Linked DNA regions of Homo sapiens: region 2 is linked to region 1. The links are contacts of gene promoters, found by promoter capture Hi-C in blood cells and fetal thymus (Javierre and others, 2016). All regions are on one chromosome and are shown on one strand. Each heading gives the region's core, a stretch centred on a gene start or on the middle of the fragment in contact. The rest is flanking DNA. Distances are from core to core; before and after follow the strand shown.

Region 1 (6,617 bases), core at 1,356-3,855:
CACAGGTTCTGGCCAGATGCTGCCTGCACTGGCCCTTGGGCCTTCTGCAGTAAGTCAGCATTAAAAAAATAAAGCTGACGCTGGGCACGGTGGGTCACACCTGTAATCTCAGCACTTTGGGAGCCCGAGGCAGGAGGATGGCTTGAGCCCAGAAGACCAGCCTGGGTAACACAGTAAGACATCATCTCTACAAAAAATAAAAAATTAGCCAGGTGTGGTGGTGTGCACCTATAGTCCTAGCTACTCAGGAGACAGGTGGGAGGATCTCTTGTGCTCAGGTTCAAGGCTGTGGTAAGCCATGACTGCATCACAGCACGCCAAGCCTGGGTGACAAAGGACCCTGTTTCTAAAAAAAAGACTGAGAAAATTTTATCAAATGTAAACATTTAAATGGGATCTTTATGATATGATGCTGAGCACCTTTTAAGTGTATTTTGTTAGGGGTGAGCAAGACGGGCTTGTGAGAATGGCACATCCAGGAAGGATAAAGAAGACAACAGCTGTGAAGTCTGGAATGGCTACATGGAGTAGCAGGCTAATTACCAAGTATTAAAAGGTCCTATAACACCAGAGATTGTAAACAGGCAGCCTGTCTGAGTATTGCTGGCCACACAGGTTTCAAAAACCACAGATAGGCCAACACTGTAGTAGATTTTCCTTTCTTCAGGGCAATTAATGGTTACTGCAGAGCTGCGATGACCTCTTCGGTCTTTGGGAAGAGTCTGTACTCTCTGGCCCTGTAGTAGGCTGAATAATGGCCCCCAAAGATAACCACATCCTAATCCCTGGAACCTGTGACTATTACTTTATTTGGCAAAAGGGACTTTGCAGATGTAATTAAGGATTTTGAAATGGGAGATTTTCTGGGTTATCTGGTGGGCCCTGAATGTATGACAAGTGTCTTTATAAAAGCGAAGCAGAGGGAACTCTGACTACAGAAAGGGAGGCAATGTGATGACCCGAAGCAGAGATTGAAGTGACGTGAACACAAGCCAAGGAACATTGGCAGCCACCAGAAAATGGAAGAGGCAAGAACCAGATTCTCCCCTGGAGCCCTCAGAAGGAGTGAGCCCTGCCTTGATTTGAGCACTGTAAGATTTCATTGTGAACTTCTGGCCTCCAGAACTGTAAACAAATAAATCTGTTAAATCACTACATTTGTGGTAACTACAACAGCAATATGAAAACTAACCCACCCTGTATATGTTTGAGCTTATAATTTAACTCAACTCTCTCAACAGTTGAGGAGGATATAGAGCCCTGACCTGCCCAAGTCACCTCCAGTTCTTGGAAGAACCAAGTCCCCAGACTGCAACTTGCTACACGCTACCTACGCTTTTCCCATGCAAAAGGAGGTCAGAGGTCTTCCAGTTGTGTTTGGTTCTAGAAGCAAACAAAAAAGAGTGACTTATGGGAGTGGTAGAACATTCTTGAGCCGTGGCCTTTTTGGGAGAGTTAGGCCCCTTGAAAAGTCGATGGAAGCTATATTCTCCTTGCAGGAAACAAAAGGCACACACACTTGCACCCATTTTTGGGAGTTCATGACCCTCAGGTAAAGAACCCCTCCTCGGCAGATAAAAAGCATTTAAGGAAAAACAGACGCAAAATAAAATCTTCGGGTAGACAAGTCAGTCCTGCCTACAGTTATAGATAAGATGGAGAAACAAAACTGAGGACAGGAATTCCATGGAAGAAGGTCACAGGGTCCAGATACGAGAAAAAAACCTCAACGAACCGGGAAACTAAAACTATAGCTTTGAAGAAAAAAACAAAGCATTAAAGCAGAGTTTGGGGTTGAAAGAATGCTCTCCAACAACCAGGAAATCGGGATTTTCACCTTTATTTTTACTCAGGAGATCATTGTTACTCGAACCCAATATTGAAGAGCCAATCTGAAAAGATGGCAATTTACTCCTGAGCTCTGGAAGTTGCTGGAACCTGATCTCGAAGCAGTGACGATCTGTGAACGCCCCAGCTGCACCAACCAAGGTGCTAAACCTTCAGACAGGTCTATTTCTACTCGGATTTTTTCTTTGGGATCAGACTGGTATTTTAAAGCCCTTCCAAACAAACAAACAAAAAACCAGAAGCTTAAAGCAAACCTAACATGTGACTTTGGACACCACTTCATCCAGACTACTTCCCTCAGACACTGACAACCGGCCAGAGGTGGAATCGCGGGAAACCTTAAACCCAGGGAAGAAGTGACTTTAAAGGAAACAAAGCGTTCGCCCCCGCCGCTTGGGAGAAGGGGCTGGGATAGAGACAAAGCCCGAGGAAAACACCGAACTAAAGTTGGGTTAGGAGCGGGGGAGGCATGGGCAGGACCCGAGAGAGGCAACTGGAACCCAGAGTGCGCGAGCGCGGAGGAGGTGAAGGCCCTGTGGACGCAGCGCCGGGAGAGCCTCAGCGGGCCGGGATAAGAGGGGCGCCCCTCACCTCGACTGGGTAGAGCTCGCGCGGCAGCACCGCCTGCAGGTCCATGAACAGGGTGATGGGGATGTGGCTGAGGAAGTAGAGGCCCAGCAGCCACTCCACGCAGCGCCTGGTTGCCGGAGCCCCCATAGTCTGTCGGTTGGGCCTGGACCCGCTGATGTGAGAAGAGGGGCCAAATCCGCGCGCCTTCCCAGACCCACGCGCCTCGGTCGCCGCCTTGCCCCCGCGAGGGCTAGGCAGACCGCTTCCATTGGCTGGCGAGAAGAGGAGGCTCGTGGACAGGGGGCGGCACTCCCCACAGGGCGCACCCATTGGTCCGTATAAGTATAGCGCGTGGAGAAGGCGTCTCGTAAGCCATTTCCATTGGCCGCCAGGAGCGCCGTGTGGGCGGGGCTTAGTCACGCCGTTCGGCGCGCGGCTACTCAGTGTAGATTGCGGTTGTGAGCGCGAGCCTAGCGTTTCGGTGCTGGCCGCGTGGTATCCTGGTGTCCCGGCAGCTGCCGGCGGCGCTCCCTTCCCTCGTGGCTCCGTTCGCCACTACAACAGCAGTATGAAAACTGCACTGGCCCTTGGGCCTTCTGCAGTAAGTCAGCATTAAAAAAATAAAGCTGACGCTGTGCACGGTGGGTCATGCCTGTAATGTCTGCACTTTGGGAGCCCGAGGCAGGAGGATGGCTTGAGCCCAGAAGACCAGCCTGGGTAACTTAGTAAGACATTATCTCTACAAAAAATAAAAAATTAGCCAGGTGTGGTGGTGTGCACCTGTAGTCCTAGCTAGTTCGTGTACTAGTGACCAGCGCCTGTGCTGGGCCGCGGTACCCCGGTGCAGTGCGGCCGTCACGGAGCAGGGGTCGCAGAGCGGGGCACGAGCGCCGCGGTGCAGGTTCCCGGCCCAGCCGGGGTTGCGGGTCTGGGGAGGCAGCTGGCCGCGGTGAACAAAGAAGCAGAGGGGAGGACTCGAGGGACGTAGGAGGCAGTAAAATGGACAGGAATCCTCACCGGCTGTGGAGCATGAGGGAAGGTCAAGGATTCGTTTACACGTTCAGCAAATACTGATGTTCATCTCCACGCTGGGCGCAGGCCTGTCTCGGGGCAGGATCGCCGAGGCTGCCATTTGCTAAGAGGGGACACAGGGCAAGGGAGTGCGAGGAAGGAATGCAGCTTGGACTACGTGGACCTTGAGTGGGCTGCAGCGTTGGGTGGAGGAGGCAGTTGGGTGAGCCTGTCTGGAGTCGTAAGCTTGTGAGGCATCCGCCTTTGATGGCGAGCAGAGGGCCTGGGAGAGATCCTGGGGGAGCTCCAGCCTCAGGTCATGGGAGGAGGGGACTGAGATAGGAGCGTACTAGCAGGGGGCTATGTCACAGGGAGGGGCAGCCTGTCAACACTGAGTGATGCCCGCCTGTGGCCCTGTGGGGAACAGTTGTGTCGTGGGGGCAGGAGCCAGGGAGTAAGAAAGTGGGGAAATGGAGGCAGGAAGTGTAGACAGCTGGTCACGAAGGGGAGAAGACATGGGGCAGTAGCTGGAGAGAGATGCACTCGAGAGTTTATTTTGCAGGTGAGAAAGACTTGAGCTAGTTTAGTTTTGACAGTGGGAGAGGTTACCCCTACTCGAGAAGAGCAGGAAATGCGGCTCAAAGCCCTGGAGGAGGCGGAGGGAATGGAAGGATTGGGGTGGGTTAGGTGGGTGCACTGCGCTCCGCCCAGCTTCCCCTTCCCTTGGGGCGCTGTGGGCTAGGACAGAGGGATTATGGCAGTGTTGAAGGCCCAGCTGAGGTGGGGGGCCGCTGACCCGGAGGCCCCAATCTCTTAGGCTGTGTGCTTTGCATTTCTCTAGTGCGGGGTCTACCCAGAAGAAGGCTGTTGGACCCCTACAGAGTTTGGGTTCAGAAAAGCGAAAGGTGGCTTTGAAGAGCTGAAGAAGAGTGATTGAGGTGCAGAAGGTTGCAGTTCAAGCTAGGTAGGGGGAGAGGGAGAGGTGAGGCCAAAGGGGGCTGTAAGACAGGGAGACAGTGGAGGCCTGCTGAGGAACACGTGCCAGCGTGATGGGAGTCACTGGGCCGGAAGGGTGGGAGCTTATGAGGAGGGCGTGCAATACCTGAATTCCTGGGGTCAGGAAGAGGTTCTGCCCGTGGGAGTGTGCGGCTGAAATGGAGTGGAGGGGAAGGTCTTTGGAGATGAGGTCAAGGGAAGGCCACCCAGGGTGGTGGTGGCGAAAATGCCACTGCACACGGGGGAGTAACCAGAAGGAAGGTGAGCATGGGATGAGAGTGGAGGGGAAACTGTGTGGACATGGCCTTGCGGAGGGAGGAGGCCGCTTATCCTGACCTTGAAGGGTGCGAGAAGGTGAATAGCCTGCGCTGGAGAGGGCTGTGGGGAAGCTGAGTCCTCAGCCAAGTGCCAGTTACTGGGGGAGGTAACAGTGGAGGGGTTTGGCTGGAGAGGAGGAGGAGCAGGTTGGAAGGAGACAGTAGGAGAAATGTGGAGGTCTTTGGGTGGGGAGCAGGGGATGAACAGCATGGGTGGCTGAGCATCGTGAGGGCACACAGTTCTGGCGTCCCCCAAGTCTCAGGTCAGCCTTGCCCAGGACCACAGAGCCGGCAGCCACAGGGAGGCAGGGGTGTTCAGGGCTGTTTGTCCTGCTCCGAGGGGGGAGCCGGGCTCCATGGAGAGAACACTCTACCAGGGGCTCAGGAGGGAGGACTCAGAATTAGCTGCTGCTTTTTTTCCAGGAAAAAAAAAAAAAGTCAATGCCTGGGAAACCTTAGGTCACCTGAGGAGAGAGCCCATTTTGTTCACACCATAAATCTTTAAAGGCAGTTTGCTCTTTCTCAGACTCCACTCTGTTCCCAGACTAACTACTCCTGTTAGTCACTTAGTAGCCATCTTGGTTATCAAATTGACCATTGAGTTATCACGGTGCTTGTGTTCAAGTAAGCCTTATGTTATTTAATAGTGGGCCAGGTGTGGTGGCTCATACCTGTAATCACTTTGGGAGGCCGAGGCAGGAGGACCCCTTGAGGCCAGGAGTTTAAGACCAGCCTGGGCAACATAGCAAGACCCCATCTCTTAAAAAAAAATTAGCTGGGCATGGTGGCTTGCCTGTAGTCCCAGCTACTTAGGAGGCTGAGGTGGGAGGATCTCTTGAGCCCAGGAGTTTGAGGCAGCAGTGAGCTGTGATCACCTCACTGCACTCCAGCCTCCACAACAGTGAGACCCCTCTCAAAGGCCCTAAAGTGCAATGGTAGCGATGTGACAATTCGGATATGCCAATGAGAAACCATAAAGTTCCTTTATGTGAAAAGGTGAAGATTTTTGATTTAGGAAATAATGCTGAGGTTGCTAAGATCTAGAGAACAGTAAGATATTTTGAGAGAGAGCACATTCACATACTATTTATTACAGTATATTGTTATACTTGTTCTATTTTATTGTTAATGTCTTACTGTGCTTGATTTATAAATTAAACTTTATCATAGGTTTGTATGTATAGGAAAAAACAATATGGTTCAGTACTACCTATGGTTTCAGGCCTCCACTGGGGGTCTTGGAACATGTTCCCCCACGGATAAGGGGGACTTTTGTATACAGCTCCTCTCTCACTTCTCCAAACCATTCACTTGAATGAGAACATGAAGGCTGGGCGCAATGGTTCACACGTGTAATCCCAGCAGAGGCCAAGGCAGGTGGATTACCTGAGGTCAGGAGTTCCAGACCAGCCTCACCAACATGGTGAAACCCAAACTCTACTAAAAGTACAAAAGTTAGCCAGGCATGGTGGTGCACACCTACAGTCCCCGCTACTCAGGAGACTGAGGCAGGAGAATCACTTGAACCTAGGAGGCAGAGGTTGCAGAGTCATGATAGCACCATTGCACTCCAGCCTGGGCGACAGAACAAAACTCTGTCTCAGAAAAAAAAAAAAGGCTGGGCATGGTGACTCAGGACTGTAATCCCAGCACTTTAGGAGGCTGAGGTGGGTGGATCACCTGAGGTCAGGAGTTCAAGACTGGCCTGGCCAACATGGTGAAAATCCATCTCTACTAAAAATACAAAAATTAGCCAGGCATAGTGGCGTGCACCTGTAGTCCTAGCTACATGGGAAGCTGAGGCAGGAGAATCACTTGAACCTGGGAGGTGGAGGTTGCAATGAGCCAGGATCGCACCACTGCACTCTAGCCTGA
Region 2 (7,101 bases), core at 277-2,776, 540 kb after region 1:
GGCTCATCTCTCAGTCATGGCAAGGAAGGAGGGCACTCTACTAACTAATGGAGAGGCAGGACATTGCTATGGCTGGATGGGACACTCCTCCCAGGCTTGCAAGTGTCTGAGAAGGATTGCACCCCTTACTGAGATGAATATGATTAAAGAAAAAGCACCTGAAAATAAGCAGTGTTCCCATGGGCTCAGGACTGGCTAGGTAGTATTTATAGGACTCAATGTAAAAATGAAAATGTGGGCTCTTTATTTTAAAATGATTAAGAATTTCAAGATGGGGACAGCAGAGCATTGAGCGTGGGGTGCTTCTAGGCTAAGTGTGAGGTCCCCAAAGCCAGCCCTGGAGGGAGCTGTCTCTGGTGAGAGGCATCTTGCCCTTCTGATGTCCTATTTCAGTTCCTGCTTCTGTGGATTGAATTAATCCCCATGTAAGGCCATCTCATTGTTGATCTTCCTGCTGTCTTCCTGTCCCCCAGGGCAAAAATAGAGGAACATCTGGCCAGGGTGGAAGCGGTAACAAAGGAGATAGAAACAACAGGAACCTACCAACTGACGGGAGATGAGCTCATCTTCGCCACCAAGCAGGCCTGGCGCAATGCCCCACGCTGCATTGGGAGGATCCAGTGGTCCAACCTGCAGGTGAACTTCCTTAGACTTGAGCGGGAGAGAGCTGGAGGCGGCCAGGCCCTGAGCAGATGGCTTGGAACAGCCACACAGAGCTGTGCCCAGGCCTCCTGGGACTGAAGCCATGGCCCTGGATCCTCTCTTACATTCCCAAATGTTGAGATGGGGCACCTAGGGTCCCTCTCTAGAAGCCTTGAATCCTGTTTCAGCACCAGGGTTTCTAGCTGCCCATTCTCTATTGTGTTAAATTCAGGAGACTAAATGCCATCATTAGAGTAAACCACGACCTTGTTTTTATTACACTTGAGGCCGTGGTGCTGCAAGATGTGTTGTTTTCCTCCAATGCTTGAATTCTTGGCTCCAAGAGAACATTTTATTTAGCCTAGCCTCCTAGGCCATCTTTTTGTTGGGGAGTCATTTGTTGCAGGATAATATCAAAAGCACTTGGACAGAGAAATCGATTAGAACTGCCAGTGAAACCAACTCTGGCTGTGTAGTATGTGCTGGTGTGGGAAAGGACCTAGCCTGGGGCTGTGGCAATCCCGATTCATGGTGCTTTCAAGTCAGGTTTTCTTGGAATTCTGGGTTTGCTGGGGTCTTCTGAGTGGGGTTGCCTGTGCTCCCCTAGAGGGCAGCCATGAAATGGGAGCGGTGGTGCAGATGGGAGGCTGAATTCTTCTGCATGGTGTTGAGTGGCAGGTGCAGATTGGAGGCTGCACTCTTCGGCATGGTGTTGAGTGTTTGTGTGTTGAGTGTTTCGGCTGCACTATTGATTCCCAGTGACTTCTGATCAGCCTCAAAGCCTCTGTCTACCCAGTCTTTGATGGGCATGGTCTGGATGGGCTGTTGCAGGTCTTCGATGCCCGCAGCTGTTCCACTGCCCGGGAAATGTTTGAACACATCTGCAGACACGTGCGTTACTCCACCAACAATGGCAACATCAGGTCGGTGCACATTTCCCAGGGCTGCAGAGGGGCTTGCCTTGCCTGAGAATCTTAGCCAAAAGATGCAGCACTTGGGTCTAGGGGAGGCATCTCCAGCTCCAGGAGAAACCAGGGAGAAAGAAAAAAGAGAAAGACTCAGGCTTCTTCGGGGACTTCCAGTAGTGAGCCCAGCCCCTGTGAGCTCAGCTCCCATCGGCAACCCATGCCCTTGGTTTCCTTCTGATGTGGAGCCACTTGGAGGGGATGGAGGATCTTTAAGAAGTAACTGCTTCACTATTCAGGGTTGGGGCTCCCATTTTTTAGAAGGCATGGGACATTAAGAGGTTACCTTCCTCTCCCAACCAACGAGGTCAAAGCTAATAGGACTGAACAGCTCATTTGGTCATTCATTCATCTTTTTGTTCAGCAAACACTCAGTGCCTACCTAATGCAACTCAACACAGGACAAGGCTGGGAGAGCAGGGGGAAGATGGGGTATGGGGGGGTAGGAGGAAGAGTGACTAGGACCCTAAGATGCTGCTCCAGCTGGTGTGAGCCTATGACCTGCACTAGACAGGCAACCAGCTAACTCAACTGCAAGGACGGAGACATAGGCAGTGAGGGAAAGACTGGCAGATCAGCTAACCCTGCCTGATGGATGGGAAGGCCCCCTTGAGGGGGTGGACCCTGGGTCTTGAGGGAGGGCAGCAGGAGAAGGCATGTCAGGAGGCTGGCTCAGTCAGCTTGGGATCAGGGGCTGCAGAGCAGGTAGGGTGGAGAGGGAGGTAGGGCCAGTGCAGGATGGCTGGGCCCCCACCAGGGCTAGGTGGTAAACAGTACTGTTCCTGTCCTGGGAAGGTCGGCCATCACCGTGTTCCCCCAGCGGAGTGATGGCAAGCACGACTTCCGGGTGTGGAATGCTCAGCTCATCCGCTATGCTGGCTACCAGATGCCAGATGGCAGCATCAGAGGGGACCCTGCCAACGTGGAATTCACTCAGGTACCCGGCCCAGCCTCAGCCACCGGCCATTGGGGCGGGGAGCCCCGTGGTGAGCGAGTGACAGAGTGGAGCCCAGAGGAGACACGCAGCCCGGGCTTACAGACTCACAGGGCCCGTCTTGTTCCCCAGCTGTGCATCGACCTGGGCTGGAAGCCCAAGTACGGCCGCTTCGATGTGGTCCCCCTGGTCCTGCAGGCCAATGGCCGTGACCCTGAGCTCTTCGAAATCCCACCTGACCTTGTGCTTGAGGTGGCCATGGAACATCCCAAGTAAGTAGGCTGAGGGTGCTGGGGGCAAGGGCGAGTCAACACACAGCCCTTCTCCTTTCCTAAGTGCGGCTCCAGCCTTCCCCATACCTTCCCTAAAGCCCAGCCAGCAGCAGGTGACACTCAGGGGGCTGGCCTTCAAGGACTCTTTTGTCACTGTTGCATTCTGCAGCCATTCTGCACTGGCACCTCGGGCCTCAGACAGGTGGATGTGTTGATGCTGAGGGGAAGCAGAGGCTTAGGCGGATGGGGCCCCAGGAGCTTGAGAAGCAGTGACTGCAGGAGAGGAATGCATTGAGATTCTAGAAAGGAGCAGCCCAGGCCTCTTCTGCCCTCCTGCCAATGCTCTTAGCTGTCCCTCTCCTGTCGGGATCATATAGGGCTGCAGTGACTTCAAGAGTCCTACTGGCCCAGCCCCTGCTCTAGGCAGTTCTCATAATTGCAAAAATACCTCTGCGTATTGAGATTTACTCTGTAGCAGACATTGGGCTGGGCTCTTCTTCCTGGCCGTTGAATGAACCAAATTCAGTCCTGACTCACAGCCTTTGTACTCCCTGTTCCCTTTGCATGACATGCCTTTTCCTCAGAATTTTTCTAGGCTCATTTCTTCTTGTCAAAAGGTATTTCCTATAATGTCACCTCCTCTGAGAAGGCTCTCTGACCACTCAAGCTAGAGGAGGCCCCCTTACCCTCAGTCTAACACATCATCTTGTTTTTATTTCTTATATATTTGTTTACCCATTTATAATCTAGAGTCTAGACATTAGACTACAAGTTCCTTGAGGGTGGAGATCTTTTCTTTTCTGTTCACAATGTATACCCAACAGCTAGCAGAGTGCCTGGCACATAGTAGGTGCTCAGTTATAAATATTTGTGGAATAACTGAATATACAAGTGAATGATATTACTAGCTTTATAATAATTCCATGAATTTGATGCTATGTTTCTATTCTGATAATGGGGATGTTGAGGCTCAGAGAGGCTAAAAAACATCCCAAGTTCACACTGCTAGTCAGAGGCAGAACTTGAACCCCAGCTTCTGACACTGGAGTCCTTAATTGCTCTGTTGTGTTGCATTCTCAGCATTTAGCACAGAGCCTGGCACATACTTGAAGCTTAATATAGGTTTGCATGAATGAATGAGTGCATGAATGCATAATTTAATAAATGGCATCCTATGTGTCCAATACGTCTCTCTGGCTGGGATTAACTCAGAATCAACTCTTGGAAAGGAGTTTTCTTGTTTGACTCTTTCTGAAGCTTTTTTCTTGGTGGGCAGGTGGGGGGTCAGTGGGAGGCCAAAGGTGCAAAAGTGAAGCCCCCAGCGCCAGACAAGGTAGTTCACACCTGTAATTCCAGCACTTTGGGAGGCTGAGGCAGGAGGATTACTTGAGGCCAGTAGTTCGAGACCAGCCTGGGCAACATAGTGAGACTCTATAAAATAATAATAATAATAATAATAATAATAATAATAATAATAAGGAAAAAAATTAGCTGAGCAAGATGGCACATGCCTGCAGTCCTAGCTACTTGGGAGGCTGAGGCAGGAGGATCGCTTGGGCCCAGGAGTTAAAGGCTGCAGTGAGTTATGATTGTGCCACTGCACTGCACTCCAGCATGAGCAACAGAGCAAGACCAAGTCACTAAAAAAAAAATAATAATAAAATAAAAATAAGGAAGGCCCCAGTTAAATTGTGTCTACCTTTTTGCCAGATACGAGTGGTTTCGGGAACTGGAGCTAAAGTGGTACGCCCTGCCTGCAGTGGCCAACATGCTGCTTGAGGTGGGCGGCCTGGAGTTCCCAGGGTGCCCCTTCAATGGCTGGTACATGGGCACAGAGATCGGAGTCCGGGACTTCTGTGACGTCCAGCGCTACAACATCCTGGAGGTAACCCAGCCAGCCCAGCTGGCCAGATGAAGGTGTGGGCCTGGGGGTGGCTTCAGGGACCGACTCGCCGCTATCACTCTGCCTCTGTAGGAAGTGGGCAGGAGAATGGGCCTGGAAACGCACAAGCTGGCCTCGCTCTGGAAAGACCAGGCTGTCGTTGAGATCAACATTGCTGTGCTCCATAGTTTCCAGGTATGTCTGGAGTTTTGTGAGTCTGAAGACTTTTTGGTGAGAAGCTTAACTGATCCAGTGACTTATGTGATGCTTAATTTATAAGTAAGCCCCCTTGCTCACTCTAGAGGTCCAGCAACAGGCAGCTCCTCACCTCCCAAGACTGTTCAATCCCTGTACTTGAGCACTGAATTCTGTCCTCTCTCAATCGCTCAAGGACTTTACTCCCAAAAATTTTCCTCTTCTCTCTCTGTATCATCAATGTCTCTCTCTCTGCTGAGTCATTCCCAGCAGTGTACAGACAGGCTCTCTTAGCCCCATTTCAAAGAAAGAAATGAATAGCTAACCACATAACTCCTGCCAAACCTCAGGCTCCCTCCAGCCACTGCCTCACCCTTCTGCTCCTTTCTACAGCAAAACTATGGAGAGATCTCATTGTGCTTCCTCATCCCCCAACTGCTTCAGCCTGGCTGGGCGACAGAGCAAGACTCCGCTCAAAAAAAAAAGAAGGCCTCCCTGACCGTGCCATGTAAAATGACGCCCTCACCCCACTGCCAACCTGTCTCTCTGTGTTAGTCCTTTAACCATTTTATTTTTCTTCAAAATACTTCCTCATACAGTTCCTGGCATTATATAGGACATCGACTTTCTTCTTTCTTTTCCTTTTTTTTTTTTTGAGACATCATCTCACTCGGTCACCCAGGCTGGAATGCAGTGGCATGATCACTGCAGCCTTGACCTCCTGGGCTCAAGTGATCCTCCCACCTTAGCCTGCCGAGTAGCTGGGACTACAGGTGCATACCACGCTTGCCTAATTTTTATATTTTTAGTAGAGATGGTGTTTTTCCATGTTGCCCAGGTTGGTTCCGAACTCCTGGCCTCAAGTGATCCGCTTGCCTCAGCCTCCCAAAGCGCTGGGATTATAGGCATAAGCCACGGTGCCGGGCCAGCTTTCTTTATTGTTTGGTTTCCCCCACTAGAATGTAAGCTCCATGGGGCAGGGACCTTGTCTGTCTGTTTGCTGCTGCACCTCTGGCCTAGAAGAGTGTCTGGCACATGGTAGATGCTAAAATAATTTGTCTTTGAAGAATGAATGATGAGGGCCACATCCGCGATCTGGCCTGGCACAAACTGGGTCTTCAGTCCTTGTCTGACGTGTGCATGAATGAGTGATGCTGGGAGGGGACCTGTGAGCTGTGGCTGCTCTTGCTTGCTGTGCGAGGATAACAACCTCCACCTCCTCTTAAGCCCACACACAGCCGCTGGGCTCCTGTGTAGGGCTAAGCCCTCAGGCCCATCCGCTGCTCTTACTCATAGAAACACTTCCCTTCCCTGTGGGAAGGAGGCCTGAGATGTAGGAAGATACTACTTTAGAAGCCACAGCCATTGCCACAAAGCTGACAGATGCCCTGGAGACCCCACCACTGGTCAGTCATTCATTCATTCAGCAGTGTTTTACTCAGCATTTGCCTGGTGCTGGGCACTAGGCTGGGCCAAGGATGTGAGTGGTGAACAGAGTACAGATGAGCACACACTGTTCCCCATGACTGGGTCACCCCATAGGCAGATCAGGCCTGTGCTTGACGGGGGAGGGGAAGATGGAACAGGAAGAGCCCCCCGGTGTTTGGGGAAGGGCTGGCTTTGCACCACACATCCTGACTCCTGGGGACTCCCAGCACCAGCCCTGATGCTGGCAGGATGTGGATACGTCCCAGAAAATCTGTGAGCCTCTGCTGTCTCCTCACCGTGGCTGACTGTGTCCTTCCACTGCCTGAGCGTCTCCAGGACTTCCTCACCACCCTCCTTCAGGGTAAACTTCAAAAGATGGGCCCTTGTTTCCTCCTCTGTAAAATGGGGATAATAGTGCCTCCCTCATCTGAGGATTATAAGAGTTAAGTAAAAATGCATGCAAAATGTTTAGCTGCACTGCCTGGCCCATAGACAACACTCAGTAAGCAATGATTTTCTTACTGTTTATTATGTTGTCATCATGATCGTGGCTACCACTGAGTTTTTTTTTTTTTTTTTTTTTTCCTTTGGAGATGAACTCTCCCTCCATTGCCTAGGCTGGAGTGCATGGTGTGATCTCGGCTCACTGCAACCTCCGCCTCCTGGGTTCAAGCAATTCTCCTGCCTCAGCCTCCCAAGTAGCTGGGATTACAGGATTGCACCACCATACCCGGCTAATTTTTGTAATTTTAGTAGAGATAGGGTTTCACCATGTTGGCCAGG

The links. Contacts are between HindIII fragments. The CHiCAGO score rates a contact against its expected background, and 5 or more counts as called.
Region 2: a contact is called between a fragment that was not itself captured here and the fragment with the promoter of TMEM97 in region 1, in 1 of 17 cell types (M2 macrophages). The highest score is 5.4, in M2 macrophages.

The regions. Positions count from the first base shown.
Region 1 is chr17:28,315,188-28,321,804 of GRCh38, reverse strand. It overlaps TMEM97 (transmembrane protein 97), which reads right to left and starts at 2,605. Exons shown (of 3, transcript NM_014573.3): 1 at 2,440-2,605. The coding sequence starts at 2,565. RefSeq lists enhancers at 2,482-2,541, 3,022-3,281, 3,501-4,326. The HindIII fragment of the contact is 1,585 bases long and covers 2,093-3,677 here.
Region 2 is chr17:27,776,479-27,783,579 of GRCh38, reverse strand. It overlaps NOS2 (nitric oxide synthase 2), which reads left to right. Exons shown (of 27, transcript NM_000625.4): 6 at 474-636; 7 at 1,474-1,565; 8 at 2,403-2,544; 9 at 2,674-2,813; 10 at 4,524-4,698; 11 at 4,789-4,890. Among named protein-coding and RNA genes, the nearest start is that of NOS2, 20 kb to the left of the region's middle. RefSeq lists an enhancer at 74-573. The HindIII fragment of the contact is 4,802 bases long and covers 1-3,927 here.